2 separate regions of the Homo sapiens genome follow, and region 2 is linked to region 1. Evidence: promoter capture Hi-C in 16 types of primary human blood cells and fetal thymus (Javierre and others, 2016). All regions are on one chromosome and are shown on one strand. Each heading gives the region's core, a stretch centred on a gene start or on the middle of the fragment in contact. The rest is flanking DNA. Distances are from core to core; before and after follow the strand shown. Region 1 holds the start of HDGFL2 (HDGF like 2). Region 2 holds the start of NDUFA11 (NADH:ubiquinone oxidoreductase subunit A11).

The links. Contacts are between HindIII fragments. The CHiCAGO score rates a contact against its expected background, and 5 or more counts as called.
Region 2: a contact is called between the fragment with the promoter of NDUFA11 here and the fragment with the promoter of HDGFL2 in region 1, in 1 of 17 cell types (neutrophils). The highest score is 5.1, in neutrophils.

Annotation. Positions count from the first base shown.
Region 1 is chr19:4,468,352-4,474,775 of GRCh38, forward strand. It overlaps HDGFL2 (HDGF like 2), which reads left to right and starts at 3,946. Exons shown (of 16, transcript NM_001001520.3): 1 at 3,946-4,071. The coding sequence starts at 4,000. RefSeq lists enhancers at 2,592-2,761, 3,022-3,371, 5,861-6,424, 6,163-6,302 and silencers at 3,872-4,051, 4,082-4,141. The HindIII fragment of the contact is 12,260 bases long and covers 1-6,424 here.
Region 2 is chr19:5,900,397-5,906,820 of GRCh38, forward strand. NDUFA11 (NADH:ubiquinone oxidoreductase subunit A11) reads right to left here and starts at 3,394. Exons shown (of 4, transcript NM_175614.5): 1 at 3,216-3,394. The coding sequence starts at 3,312. It overlaps VMAC (vimentin type intermediate filament associated coiled-coil protein), which reads left to right and starts at 4,476. Exons shown (of 2, transcript NM_001017921.4): 1 at 4,476-4,685. The coding sequence starts at 4,495. RefSeq lists enhancers at 2,826-3,472, 3,282-3,576, 4,150-4,269 and a silencer at 4,310-4,659. The HindIII fragment of the contact is 6,218 bases long and covers 2,737-6,424 here.

The DNA.
Region 1 (6,424 bases), core at 2,696-5,195:
AGGACGGTACAAAATTCAGTCCCTAGCAGGTAGGAATGGAATTGCTGGGTCATATGGTAAGTCTATGTATTTTCTTTTTGTTCTTGTTTTCAGACAGAGTCTTGCTCTATTGCCCAGACTGGAGTGTATTAGCACAATCTCGGCTCACTGCAACCTCTCCCTCTTGGGTTCAAGCAATCCTCCTGCCTCAGCTTCCCGAGTAGTTGGGATTGCAGGAATGTGCCATCACACCTGGCCAATTTTTTTGGTATTTTTAGTAGAGACAAAGTTTCACCATGTTGGCTAGGCTGGTCTCAAACTCTTTTTTTTTTTTTTTTTTTTTTTGAGACAGAGTCTCGCTCTGTCGCCCAGGCTGGAGTGCAATGGCGCCATCTCGGCTCACTGCAAGCTCCGCCTCCCGGGTTCACACCATTCTCCTGCCTCAGCCTCCCAAGTAGCTGGGACTGCAGGTGCCCGCCACCACGCCCGGCTAATTTTTTGTATTTTTAGTAGAGATGGGGTTTCACTGTGTTAGCCAGGATGATCTCGATCTCCTGACATCGTGATCCACCTGCCTCGGCCTCCCAAAGTGCTGGGATTACACGCATAAGCCGCGGCACCTGGCCTATGTTTAATTTTTATTTTATTTATTTATTTTTTTGAGACGAAGTCTAACTCTGTTGCCCAAGCTGCAGTGCAGTGGCGCAATCTCGGCTCACTGCAACCGCCCCCTCCGGGTTCAAGCGATTCTCCCTGCCTCAGTCTCCTGAGTAGCTGGGACTACAGGCACACACCATCATGCCCAGCTAATTTTTGTTTTTCAGTAGACATGGGGTTTCACTATGTTGGCTGCCCTGGTCTCAAACTCCTGACTTCGTGATCTGCCCACCTCAGCCTCCCAAAGTGCTGGGATTACAGGCGTGAGCCACCGCGCCCGGCCTATTGTATTTTTTTGAAACAGGGTCTAGCTCTGTTGCCCAGGATGGAGTGCAGTGGTGCAATCTCAGCTCACTGCAACCATTGCCTCCCTGGGCTCGATCCTCATTCCTCAGCCTCCTGAGTAGCTCAGAGTAGAAGTGTGCGGATCATGCCCAACTGATTTTTATATTTTTTGTAGAGATGGGGTTTAACCATGTTGCTCAGGCTGGTCTCGAACTCCTGGGCTCAAGCGAATTTTCCACCTCAGTCGTGCTGGGATTACTGGTGTGAGATGCCATGCCAGGCCTTACGTTTCAGTTTTAAAGAAATGGTCTTTGTTGATCCATATTTCACATGCATAGGGATGTTTTTTGAGAATAAAATACTCTCTTTGTATCCTCTGATCAGATCCCCCCAATAGTTTCCCAAGAAGTTAAAATAAAACCCAAACTTCTCATTTATGTTTGTAATGTATTGTGATAGGTCCTCTACGGACCCCTCCAGCCCTCCAGCTTTATCTGTTTCCCCTACTCACACACAGTCATCCTAGGATCAGATGGGTTTTTTGTTGTTGCTGTTGTTGTTCTTGTTTTTGCTTGTTTGCTTTTTCTTTTCTTTTCTTTTTTTTTTTGAATCAAAGTCTCGCTCTGTCACCCAGGCTGGAGTGCAGTGGCATGATCTTGGCTCACTGCAACCTCCGCTTCCCGGGTTCAAGTGATTCTCGTGCCTCAGCCTCCCGAGTAGCTGGAATTACAGGCGCCTGCCACCACGCCTGGCTAATTTTTTGTATTTTTAGTAGAGATGCGGTTTCACCATGTTGGCCAGGGTGGTCTCAAACTCCTGACTTCAAGTGATCTACCCGCCTCGGCCTCTCAAAGTGTTGGGATTACAGGCGTGAGCCACCGCGCCCGGTCTCGTTTGTTTTTTGCAACGGAGTCTCGCTCTGTCACCCAGGTTGTAGTGTAACGGCGTGATCTCGGCTCACTGCACCCTCCGCCTCCCAGGTTCAAGTGATTATCCTGCCTCAGCCTCCCAAGTAGCTAGGAGTATAGGCGCCCACCACCACGCCCGGCTAATTTTTGTATTTTTTCTAGAGATGGGATTTCACCATGTTGGCCAGGCTGGTCTCGTACTCCTGACCTTAAGTGAGGATCAGACGCTTGTTTTTGCTCTTCCCTCTGCTCCTCATGCCCTCCCAGGGCTCGCCTCACTATCATGTCCAACTTCTATTCATTCTCCCAGTGTCTGGTTAAACTCACTTCATCCAGTAACCCTCTGTGATCCCCCAGGAGAGAAGAAGTCGTCTCCATTATTCAGCTTTTTTTCCTCAAGCACCCTGGTTCATTTTAGTTCTTACCATGGATCCTAATTACAAAAAACAAAACAAAACACAGCAACATCAACAAATTTTAAAACTTAACATTTCTTGGCCCTGTTATACTTGATTCCTGGAAGGTAGAGTTTTGTTTTTTGTTTTTGTTTTTTTTTTGAGACAGAGTCTCGCGCTGTCGCCCAGGCTGGAGTGCAGTGGCACGATCTCGGCTCACTGCAAGCTCCGCCTCCCGGGGTCAGGCCATTCTCCTGCCTCAGCCTCCCTAGTAGCTGGGACTACAGGCGCCTGCCACCACGCCTAGCTATTTTTTTTGTATTTTTAGTCGAGACGGGGTTTCACTATGTTAGCCAGGATGGTCTCGATCTCCTGACCTCGTGATCCACCCACCTCGGCCTCCCAAAGTGCTGGGATTACAGGCGTGAGCCACCACGCCCTGCCGGAAGGTAGAGTTATAGCTTTTTTTTTTCTGCTCTGTCACCCAGTCTGGAGTGCAGTGGCGCGATCTCGGCTTACTGCAACCCCCCGCTCCTGGGTTCGAGTGATTCTCCTGCCTCAGCTTCCTGAGTAGCTGGTATAGGTGCGTGCCACCACGCCCAGCTAATTTTTGTATTTTTAGTAGAGACGGGGTTTCACCATGTTGGCCAGGCTTGGTCTCAAACTCCTGACCTCGTGATCCGCCCGCTTCGTCCTCTCAAAGTGCCGGGGTTACAGCCGTGAGCCATCGCGTCCGGCCGAGTTATAGCTTCTAATACTTCCTGTATTTCCTGTTGCCGGGCTCAGTCTAGAGCAGGGTCCTCACAATCATTATGGGCCCCATCTTCCAAGTGCAGAGAGCGAAGCCCAGGACAATCAAGTGACTCGGCCCCACGGTATTCAGTACATTTTTCTTGAATGAATGAATAGGTCTGTGTGGCGTTTTGGGGCCCTGGCATATAGTAGGTACTCAGTTAAGTTTTTAACTAAGTGAAGAAATAACTATTTTGTGCATTTTGTGGCTGTTTATACTAAGAGCTCCCCCGGAGCCTGCCCCTTCCTCTAAGTCCCGCCTCCTCGAGCTGGCAATCGCCCGTCCCTGTTTTATGTTGTATCGCTCTTCTTTCGATAGCCAATGGCCGACGTTCCCGCTGAAGCCCCGCCTCTTGTGATGGCCAATGCCTGCTCCCTACCTTGAGGCGCTTCTCTTGTGGTATCCAATGGCTTGCATATCTACTTTAAGCCTCTCCTCCTGAGCGGGAGAGGCTGTCAATGACCCGCCCATTGCGTTAAGTGATTGGCCTTCTTTTCTGCGGTATCCAATGTTCTGCCCTCCTTATATCCCCTTCTCTTGTGGAGGTCTATGTCCTGCCTCTTTCCCTTAAGCTCCACCCCTTCACTCCCTTAGAGCGTCTGTTCGTCTCCTCCCACCTTTCCCTTTCACCTCCCATAACCTCCCATTAGAGTCTCTGGGTTACGCCCCTTGGGTCTGTCCGTTATCCAATCCCGTTAACTGCTGTGCTCCAACCTCTGTTCTTATTGGTCGCCTCCCTTCTCTGTCCCCTGCACGTGGTCCTGATCGACGGCTTTGCCGGCCCGTGACGGCCGGAGGGCTGAACTTCCGTTGGCGCAACGCCCAATAAGCGCGCGTCGGCAGGCTGCCCAGACAGCCTCCCCCGCCCCCTCGGCGTCCCGCTCCCGCCCCCGGCTTCGCCTCCCGCTGCCGCCGCCGCCGCCGCCGCAGCCGCTACCGCCGCTGCAGCCGCTTTCCGCGGCCTGGGCCTCTCGCCGTCAGCATGCCACACGCCTTCAAGCCCGGGGACTTGGTGTTCGCTAAGATGAAGGGCTACCCTCACTGGCCTGCCAGGGTGAGGCCGCGCGGGAGATGGGGCCGGTGGGGGGGGGGGGGGGGGCAGCGGGGGCCCCGGGCCGGAGGCGGGCACTGGAGGGCCGGGGTTGTCCTGGGCCTGAAGGAGCTGCGCCCCGGGGGTCTGGGGTTCATGGGGTCTGGGGGTGTCCGAGACCCGCAGCGGCCCCGCCCTGGGGGTCTGGGGGTCCTGGGCCGCAGGGAGCTGCGCCCTAGGGGTCTGGGGTTGTCCGGGGCCTGCCGGAGCCGCGCCCCGGGGTCTAGGGATCCTGGGCCTCAGGGAGCCCCGCCCTCGGGGCCTGGGGGTCCTGGGCTGCAGGGAGCCGCGTTCTTGTGGTCTGGTGGTGTTCGGATCCTGCAGGACCCGCCGTCTGGGCCTGCAGGAGCCCCTCCCGGGGTCTGGGGGTCCTCGGCCTCAGGGAGCTGCGTCCTGGGGTTCTGGGGGTGTCCAAGCCCTGCAGGAGCCGCGCCCCGGGGTCTGGGGGCCCTGGGCCTCAGGGGGCCGCGCCTAGGGGTTCTGAGGGTGTCTGCGGCCTGAGAGACTCTCGCCCTTGGTGTATGAGGGTTTTGGGGCTCAGAGAGTCGCTCCCTGGGAGTCTGGGGGTATCCTGGGCCCGAGGGAGTCGCACCTTGGGGGTTTGGGGGTGTTTGGGGCCTGAAAGAGCCGCGCGCCGACGGTCTGGGGGTCCCGGGCCCGAGGAAGCGGTGCCCTGGGGGTCTGGGGCCTGATAAATTCTCACTCTGGGGGAATGGCGGTCCTGGACCTGAGGGAGCTGCGCCGTGGGGATCTGGGGGGTGTCCAGGGCCTGAAGGAGCTGCGGCGCCAATGGTCTGGGGGTCCTGGGCCTGAGGAAGCTGCGCTCTGGGGGTCTGGGGCTTCTGTGCCTGAGGGAGCTGCACCATGGGGATCTGGGGTTGCCCTGGCCCAGAGGGAGCCACGCCTCGTGTGTCTGGGGGTGTCCAGGGTGCCTCAGGGAGCCGTGCGCAGGGTGTCTGGGAGGGTCTGGGACCTGAGGGACCCTCACCTGAGGGCCTGGGGATCCCAGGCCTGAGGGCTCAAGGTTCAAGTTTGAGCAGAACTGCGGAACTTGAGATTTGGGGTCAGATATGGGGGCTGAAGCACTCCCTTGTGGGTCCTGGAGAAGCCCAGTTTTGAGGGGCTGGGGGGCCGAGGGCCATGTGCTAGGGGTCCAGGGTTGGAGGAGGCAGTCAGGGGGGAAGGTTGAGGGTCAAGGCTAAGGGAAGCTGGGACCTCTGAGTGAGGGGCTGGGGGTGGGGGAATGGGGCTCGGGGCTCTGTTCACGGGGTCACTGGGACTCGGGGAACTGGACCTTAGAATGAAGTTGGCATCGGGACTGTTGGGGGACCCTGGGGATTGGTCCCCTGTGGGGAGGAGGATGTAGAAGCTGGTTTTGGAGGGACTTGAGGGTGGGGTGGTCCAACCCCAATGCTTGAAATGGAGACAGGCCCGGGCCCAGGGAGTGGGAGCGCTTCTGAGGGAAGGGGGCTGGCCGAGGGGACCTTGGATGCCCCTTTGGTGGAAGCTGGGGTCCCGACGACCTGGATAGTCCCAGGTGTCCTGGCCTGAAGGATATTCCGCACCTTGGAGTCCCAGGTGTGGAGGGGGTGAGTTCCAGGCCCTGAGAGGTACAGGCCAGCGGGAAGCAGGGACCCCAGGCTATTGTCATCCCCAGGTCTTAGGGCTGAGTCTCCCAGGGCTGAGGTTGGTGGAATTTGCCGGGCAGGACTGAGGAATTTGGCACTGGGGGTGGAAGGCTGGGGCAGCAGGGAGGGGCTGTGGAGGGGGACACCAAACGGTGCTCTGGACCAGAACCAGCCCAGGTCCGAAGCTGGCAATGCCGCTGGGATGGGTGGGCCTCGGAGGACCGTGGGCGGGTCTTGGGAGAAGCGGGGCTGTGAGGCATGCCGGGCTGGTCCTCGGGTGGACTGAATTTAGGATGCTTCTGGCGGGAGAGGGATGCTGGGCCTGGCGGCCCATGGCCGAGCCCAGGGGCCAGGGACTCTGATAAAGTAGCTCTGAGGAGACCCAAGCGAGAAGGAAGCTGGGTGAGTGGGGCAGGGAAGATCGGGAGCCCCCTAGAAGCTGGAGACGTGGATGGGGAAGGAATGCATTGGGAGGGGAGAAGCCACTCCAGCCTGCTGTGCTCGCGCTGACTTTCTTGGGGGAGACCAGAGCAATGCAACTTTATAGGCACTTCCCTCCCTTTCCCAGCTCTCTTCTTCCCAGAGCACTCGCTTTTCTCTCCCCCGTCCCCCCTTCTCCAGCCTGCTCTCCTAGCCCCAAACGTTTCCAAGCACCTGATTGGAAGTGAAGGGGCTGTTAGTCTCCTGTG
Region 2 (6,424 bases), core at 2,144-4,643, 1.4 Mb after region 1:
TTCATTCATCCATAGTTATCATGTGCCCACAGGTCCTGGGCTCTGCTGAGTATAGTCTCCCCGCCGTCCAGGGTCCCCAACTCAGGGAAGCCAGCCAGGAAACAATTTATCTCCCTCAGATGAGAAGTGAGGGGAGCCCCGGAATGAAGTGAGTGGGGCAGTGAGGGGAGGACCCAGAAACACGTTTCAGCAAGTTCTGCACAATGAGTGGAGCTGGTCACTGAAGAATTTAGGGAGAAGGGTGGGTGCAGTGGCTCACGCCTGTAATCCCAGCACTTTGGGAGGCCAAGGCGGGCGGATCACCTGAGGTCAGGAGGTTGAGACCGGCCTGGCCAACATGGCGAAACCTTGTCTCTACTAAAAATACAAAAATTAGCCAGGCACGGTGGCAGGCACCTGTAATCCCAGCTACTTGGGAGGCTGAGACACAAGAATTGCTGGGAGGCAGAGGTTGCAGTAAGCCAAGATCGCACCACTGCACTCCAGCCTGGGTGACAGAATGAGACTCCGTCTCAAAAAAAAAAAAAAAAAGAAAAAAGAAAAAAGAAAAATTTAGGGAGAATGAATGTCACTCTCAAAGACCCCGGGGCACCCTTGGAGGGCTCACAGAAGCCACTGAGCACCCCTAAATCTAAATCTGATGCCATCAGCGATCTCCTGACATGGCAACTCTGTCAAAAGTTCTGACCTCCCCTTCTAAGACCCTCTGGGGAGCACCCCCGGTCTCAGAGGCCCTTCACTCAGCAGCACCACACCCCGAGACAAGCTGTCTCCTCCAAAGGCCTCCTGAGACCGCAGCCCACTCATTTTGTATTCACACATGAGGAATGCACACACTCTCTCACATGAACACCAACATACGCGTCTTTCTCAGTTTCAGATCCTATCCCCTGGGTGGCCCCCTTCAGCCCTTTCTCTTGAAGACCCTCGATAAGGACCTGATGGGAACATTCCTTGCTTCAGAGACCCCTAGGAGCAGGTCAGCCGACCTGGACTTGCAGCCCAGCTTCAAATGACCCTGGAGCAGTTAATATGCTTCTCCAACCTTCAGTCCCTACCTGTAAGAAATGGAGACACAATAACGTCTGTCTTACTATTAATAAATATGCAAAATATGGGAGTGATGATTAGGTCTGCCCTAATTCAAATGCCTCCCAATGGAGCCGCAACTTTGGCCGGGCCCTGTTTCACATATGCTGGAAATACAGAGTTGACCAAATTGATTCCTCAGCTTATAGACACACCAGGTTGTAAAGACTGTTTCTTTGGGTTTTTTTTTTTTTTTCTTTTTGAGACGGAGTCTTGCTCTGTCGCCCAGGCTGGAGTGCAGAGGCGCAATCTCGGCTCACTGCAAGCTCCGCCTCCCAGGTTCACGCCATTCTCCTTCCTCAGCCTCCTGAGTATCTGGGACTACAGGTGTCCACCACCACGCCCGGCTAATTTTTTTTGTATTTTTAGTAGAGACGGGTTTTCACCGTGTTAGCCAGGATGGTCTCGATCTCCTGACCTCGTGATCCACCTGCCTCGGCCTCCCAAAGTGCTGGGACTACAGGCGTGAGCCACCGCGCCCGGCTGGTTTTGTTTTGTTTTGTTTTTTGAGACAGCGTCTCACTCTGTCGCCCAGGCTGGAGTGCAGTGGCACAATCTCGGCTCACTGCAACCTCTGCCTCCTGGATTCACGCCATTCTCCTGCCTCAGCCTCCCAAGTAGCTGGGACTACAGGCACCCGCCATCATGCCTGGCTGATTTTTTGTATTTTTAGTAGAGACGGGGTTTCACCGTGTTAGCCAGGATGGTCTCAATCTCCTGACCTCATGATCCGCCTCCCAAAGTGCTGGGATTACAGGTGTGAGCCACCATGCCCGGCCTATTATTTTTATTTTTTGAGACAAGGTCTCGCTCTGTCGCCCAGGCTGGGGTGCAGTGGTGCAAACATAGCTCACTAGAGCCTTGAACTCCTGGTTTCAAGTGATCCTCTTGTCTCAGCCTCCTGAGTAGCTGGGACTACAGGTACGCACCATCATGCCCAGCTAATTGTTTTACTTTTTTGCAGAGATGGGGATCTTGCTATTTTGCCCAGGCTGGTCTGGAACTCCTGGCCTCAAGCGATCCTCCCACTTTGGCCTCCTGAGCGCCGGATTACAGGTGTGAGCCACCGCGCCTGGCCCAGTTTGTAAAGATTCTTCATCAGAGGGAAGAGGACTTCCAGCTCCATCTGGGACCTGATGAGTCCCAACCTGTGGCTGAGAATTAAAGGGCATGATGCCCATGAAACGCTCAGGCTGGAAGGGGCAAGACTCAGATTTACTCTATAAGAGAATGCCAGGGCCGGCCGGGCATGGTGGCTCACGCCTGTAATCCCAGCACTTTGGGAGCCCGAGATGGGCGGATGGCCTGAGACCAGGAGTTCCAGATCAGTCTGGCCAACACGGTGAAACCCCGTCTCTACTAAAAATACAAAATAATTAGCCAGGCGCGGTGGCGTGAGCCCGTAATCCCAGCTACTTGGGAGGCTGAGGCAAGGGAATTGCTCGAACCAGGGACGTGAAGGTTGCAGTGAGCCGAGATCTCGCCACTGCAGTCCAGCCCGGGCGACAGAGCAAGGCTCTGTCTCAAAAAAAAAAAAAAAAAAGGAGAATGCCAGGGCTTGCGGGTCCCCTTCATTCCCCTGCAAGGCTACCCTCATAGTAGCTCCTGATCCACCTCACCTAGGACCTCTCTGGCGGTCCCAGTAAAAGCTTCAGGTGTCCCTAACCACCCAGCACCCCCTGACCACAGAAAGACCTCATCCCACCCCAAAACTTTCTCAAACATCTGTACCGCCCTCAGATGCCCCAATCATGACTCATGATCCCCTCTAACAATCTCTACCCCGTTGGAAAGTCTCGTGGTCCCTTAGCTCCTTGGACCTGATAATAGCCCTGTCTCACTCCACAATTTCCCCGAGCCTGGCGATAGCTTGGGACCGCCTCAGATGACCCCAGGGACTAGCTTGTCGCATGTCACGACCTCCCAGTGCTCCCCAACCCTGCTGGACCCCCTACCAACATCCATTTCACACAAGATCCCCCCCTACGACCGCCCAAGACACCCCGATGACAACCACGTGCGTACCCGCGAGACTCCCAGACCCGTTCGATCCAAACAGCCCCCAGTAACCCCACGACCTCCCTGCGGCCTCGGCCCTCCACCCTCGGGGCCCGGCCGGCGCTCACCAGCGACGCTGGCAATACTGGTGGTGCTGTAGGCTTTGCGGTGGCAATCGGTGCCATCGGGGATATCCCAGTACTGACGAAAAACCTTCGGCGCCATAGCCCGCAATCTCGATCCCGCACCACGGACCCCGCCAGCTCGGGAAGCGCAAGGGCAGCCGCGGCTGGCTATCGCGAGACTTCTCGGGCTGCGCGCGCAACCTTTCGGGCTAGCGGGCCGGCAACAAGTGAGCAACTTTATTGATAGGCGCGGACATGGACATGGATCGCGCGCACGCGCCGGGGACCGGCCTGGAGGAAGAGAGTAGCACGTGCATCCCCAGGCCGATTCCTAGAGGGTGAAACTGAGGACGACTGCGATCAGTGCAGACAGATTTCGCTAGTCCCAGCTCAGGGAGTCCTAGGTTAGGGACTACTAGAGGCGGGGACTATCTACTAGGGGAGGGGCCGGGCTCAGACTGGGACGGGCGGGACTCCAGTTGATAGGAGCAAGACATGACGAAACAATGACTGGGGGGCGGGGCATGGCGGGGATGTGGCCACACCCAGTGTCAGAATCTGCATAGCGAGTGGTCATGCCCTGTGGTCAGTCACCAAGCTGGAGTCTGAGCAGCGTGCTACTGTTTTGGGCCGTGGACAGGATCAGGGGCGGGGATTATCGGGAAAGTGACCAATGACAATACGAGAAGCTCAGCGGGACGTGGCCTCTGTTCACCCCGCGGCTGTCCCACGCCCTAGGCCGGATGAAGTACACAGGCGCTTGACTTGGGGGCGTGGCTAGAATTGGAGGCATAACCTAAAAGGGACTTGACCAATCTGAGACTGTATAAGGGATGAAGGGGCGAGGCCGTGCCTGGATCTACCCCTGACAGGCCACAGGTTCGGGGGGCGTGGTCAGGCTTGCTGTTTCGCGGAGTCCGGGCCAATCCTGGTGTTAGCTTCCAAGTAGGGAGGGGACAGTATCGAAGGTGTGACCAATCTTGTTTCCAGAGCCTGAGTTGCGCGAGCCGCCAAAGGATGTGGCCAGCCTGGGGGCGTGGCTGTCAAGATCTTGTCCAATCCTAGAGTGAGCCCAAACTCAGGGGCGGAGTTTCATGATCCCGGAACCGGTGGTAGTGTTTGGGTTTGAGGAGAGCACGACCCAGCCCTCTGGGGTGGGGTCTAGCGGGGTCAGCGACCAATCGCGCCGAGGTCTAGTGGGGCGGGGCCCTCCCGGGGGCGGGGCCTGTGCCAGTTCCGGGCCGCCTGGGGGCGTGGCCGGGCCTGTACAGCAGCCTGGGCCATGTCGGCGCCGCCGGCCCTGCAGATCCGGGAGGCAAACGCACACCTGGCAGCCGTGCACCGGCGCGCAGCGGAGCTGGAGGCGCGGCTGGACGCGGCGGAGCGCACGGTGCACGCCCAAGCCGAGCGCCTGGCCCTCCACGACCAGCAGCTGCGCGCCGCCCTAGACGAACTGGGTCGCGCCAAGGACCGGTGAGGCCCGGGGCCGGCCAGGTGGACTTCACCGAGGCGGTAGGCGGAGGCAGAGCCGAGGCTGGAAAGCGAGGAAGGGCAGGGGGAACCGTGTGCACTTGTATAGACGCTAGACTGAGTATCGGATTGATAAAAACACCAAAAAACTCGAATTAGTAATCAGTATGTAAAGTTGCGAGAAGTGACACAGGTGTGGACCTCTAACTTCAAACAGGCCCACTTTCCCACAGGTGCTGAGCGACGCAGGGACCACAGACCGCCCAGCGTAGGCATTGGGAGCCATAGCAGGCTCTTCAGCAGGGGAGGAGGGGATCATATCAGCATTTTAACTTTTAAAATTTATTATTATTTTTTTGAGACGGAGTTTCGCTCTTGTCGCCTAGGCTGGAGTGCAGTGGCGTGATCTCAGCTCACTGCAACCTCCACCTCCCAGATTCAAGCGATTCTCCTGCCTCAGCCTCCCGTGTAGCTGGGATTACAGGCGCCCGCCACCACGCCCGGTCGATTTTTTGTATTTCTAGTAGAGACTGGTTTTCGTCACGTTGTGCAGGCTGGTCTCTAACTCCTGACCTCAGGTGATCCGCCCGCCTCAGCCTCCTAAAAGTGCTGGGATTACAGGGGTGAGCCACCGCACCCGGCCTAAATTTATTATTTTTGAGGCAGGGCCTCACTCCTATGCCCAGGCTGGAGTGCACCTCGACCTCCGGAGCTCAGGTGATTCTCCCACCTCAGTCTCCCAAGCAGCTGGGACTACAGGCGTCCACCACCACGCATGGCTTATTTTTTGTATTTTTTTGTAGAGACAGTTTTGCCCTGTTGCCCAGTTTGGTCTTGAACTCCTGGGCTCAAGCAGTCCTCCCACCTCACCCTTCCAAAGTGCTGGGATTACAGGCTAAGCCACCATGCCTATCTATTATTTTTGAGAGAGGGTCTTGCTCTGTTGCCCAGGCTGGAATGCAGTGGTGCGATCTCGACTCACTGCAGTCTCACCCTCCCTCCTCAGCCTCTCAAGTAGCTGGGATTACAGGCGTGCGACAGCACACCTGGCTGATTTAAAAAAAAAAATCCTTTAGAAATGGGGTCAGACTATGTTGCCTAGGCTGGCCTTGAACTCCTGGGCTCAAGTGATCCTCCTGCCTCAGCCTCCCGAAGTGCTGGGATTATAGGCACGAGCCACCATGCTGGCCCATATCAGCATTGTTGAAGAGTCCCTCTGACAGCTGAGGATGAAAGAGATGAGACAGGCACCCAGGGAGGTGGGAGGAGCTGGGTCCCAGGTGGGAACTATTACTTCAGAGCTAATTGGACATATTCATTTTTACCGAGCACCTGCTCTGTGCCAGGCACTCATTCATTCGTCTTCATTGAGCACCTACTGTGTGTCAGGCATTCTGCTGAGTACTGGAGCACATCAGTAAGACTTAGCCTTGCCCATTGGGTATCCACAGTCCAGTGGAGAGACAGACATGTCACTGGGCAGTTACATCATTGGTGGCCAGCGGCCATGATGGAGGGGCATATGGGGCTCTGAGGGATCTCAGAGTGAAGGCTTCCCAGAGGAAGAGCCTACTAAGAATAGGTGGGAAAAGATAATGGAAAGGAACGAACTGCAGGAAGAGTGAGGGGACGAAATGAGGGTTCTCATAAGAAAATGCCATAAACTGGCTGGGTGGTGGCTCACGCCTGTAATCCCAGCACTTTGGAAGGCTGAGGCAGGCAGATCACCTGAGGTCAGGAGT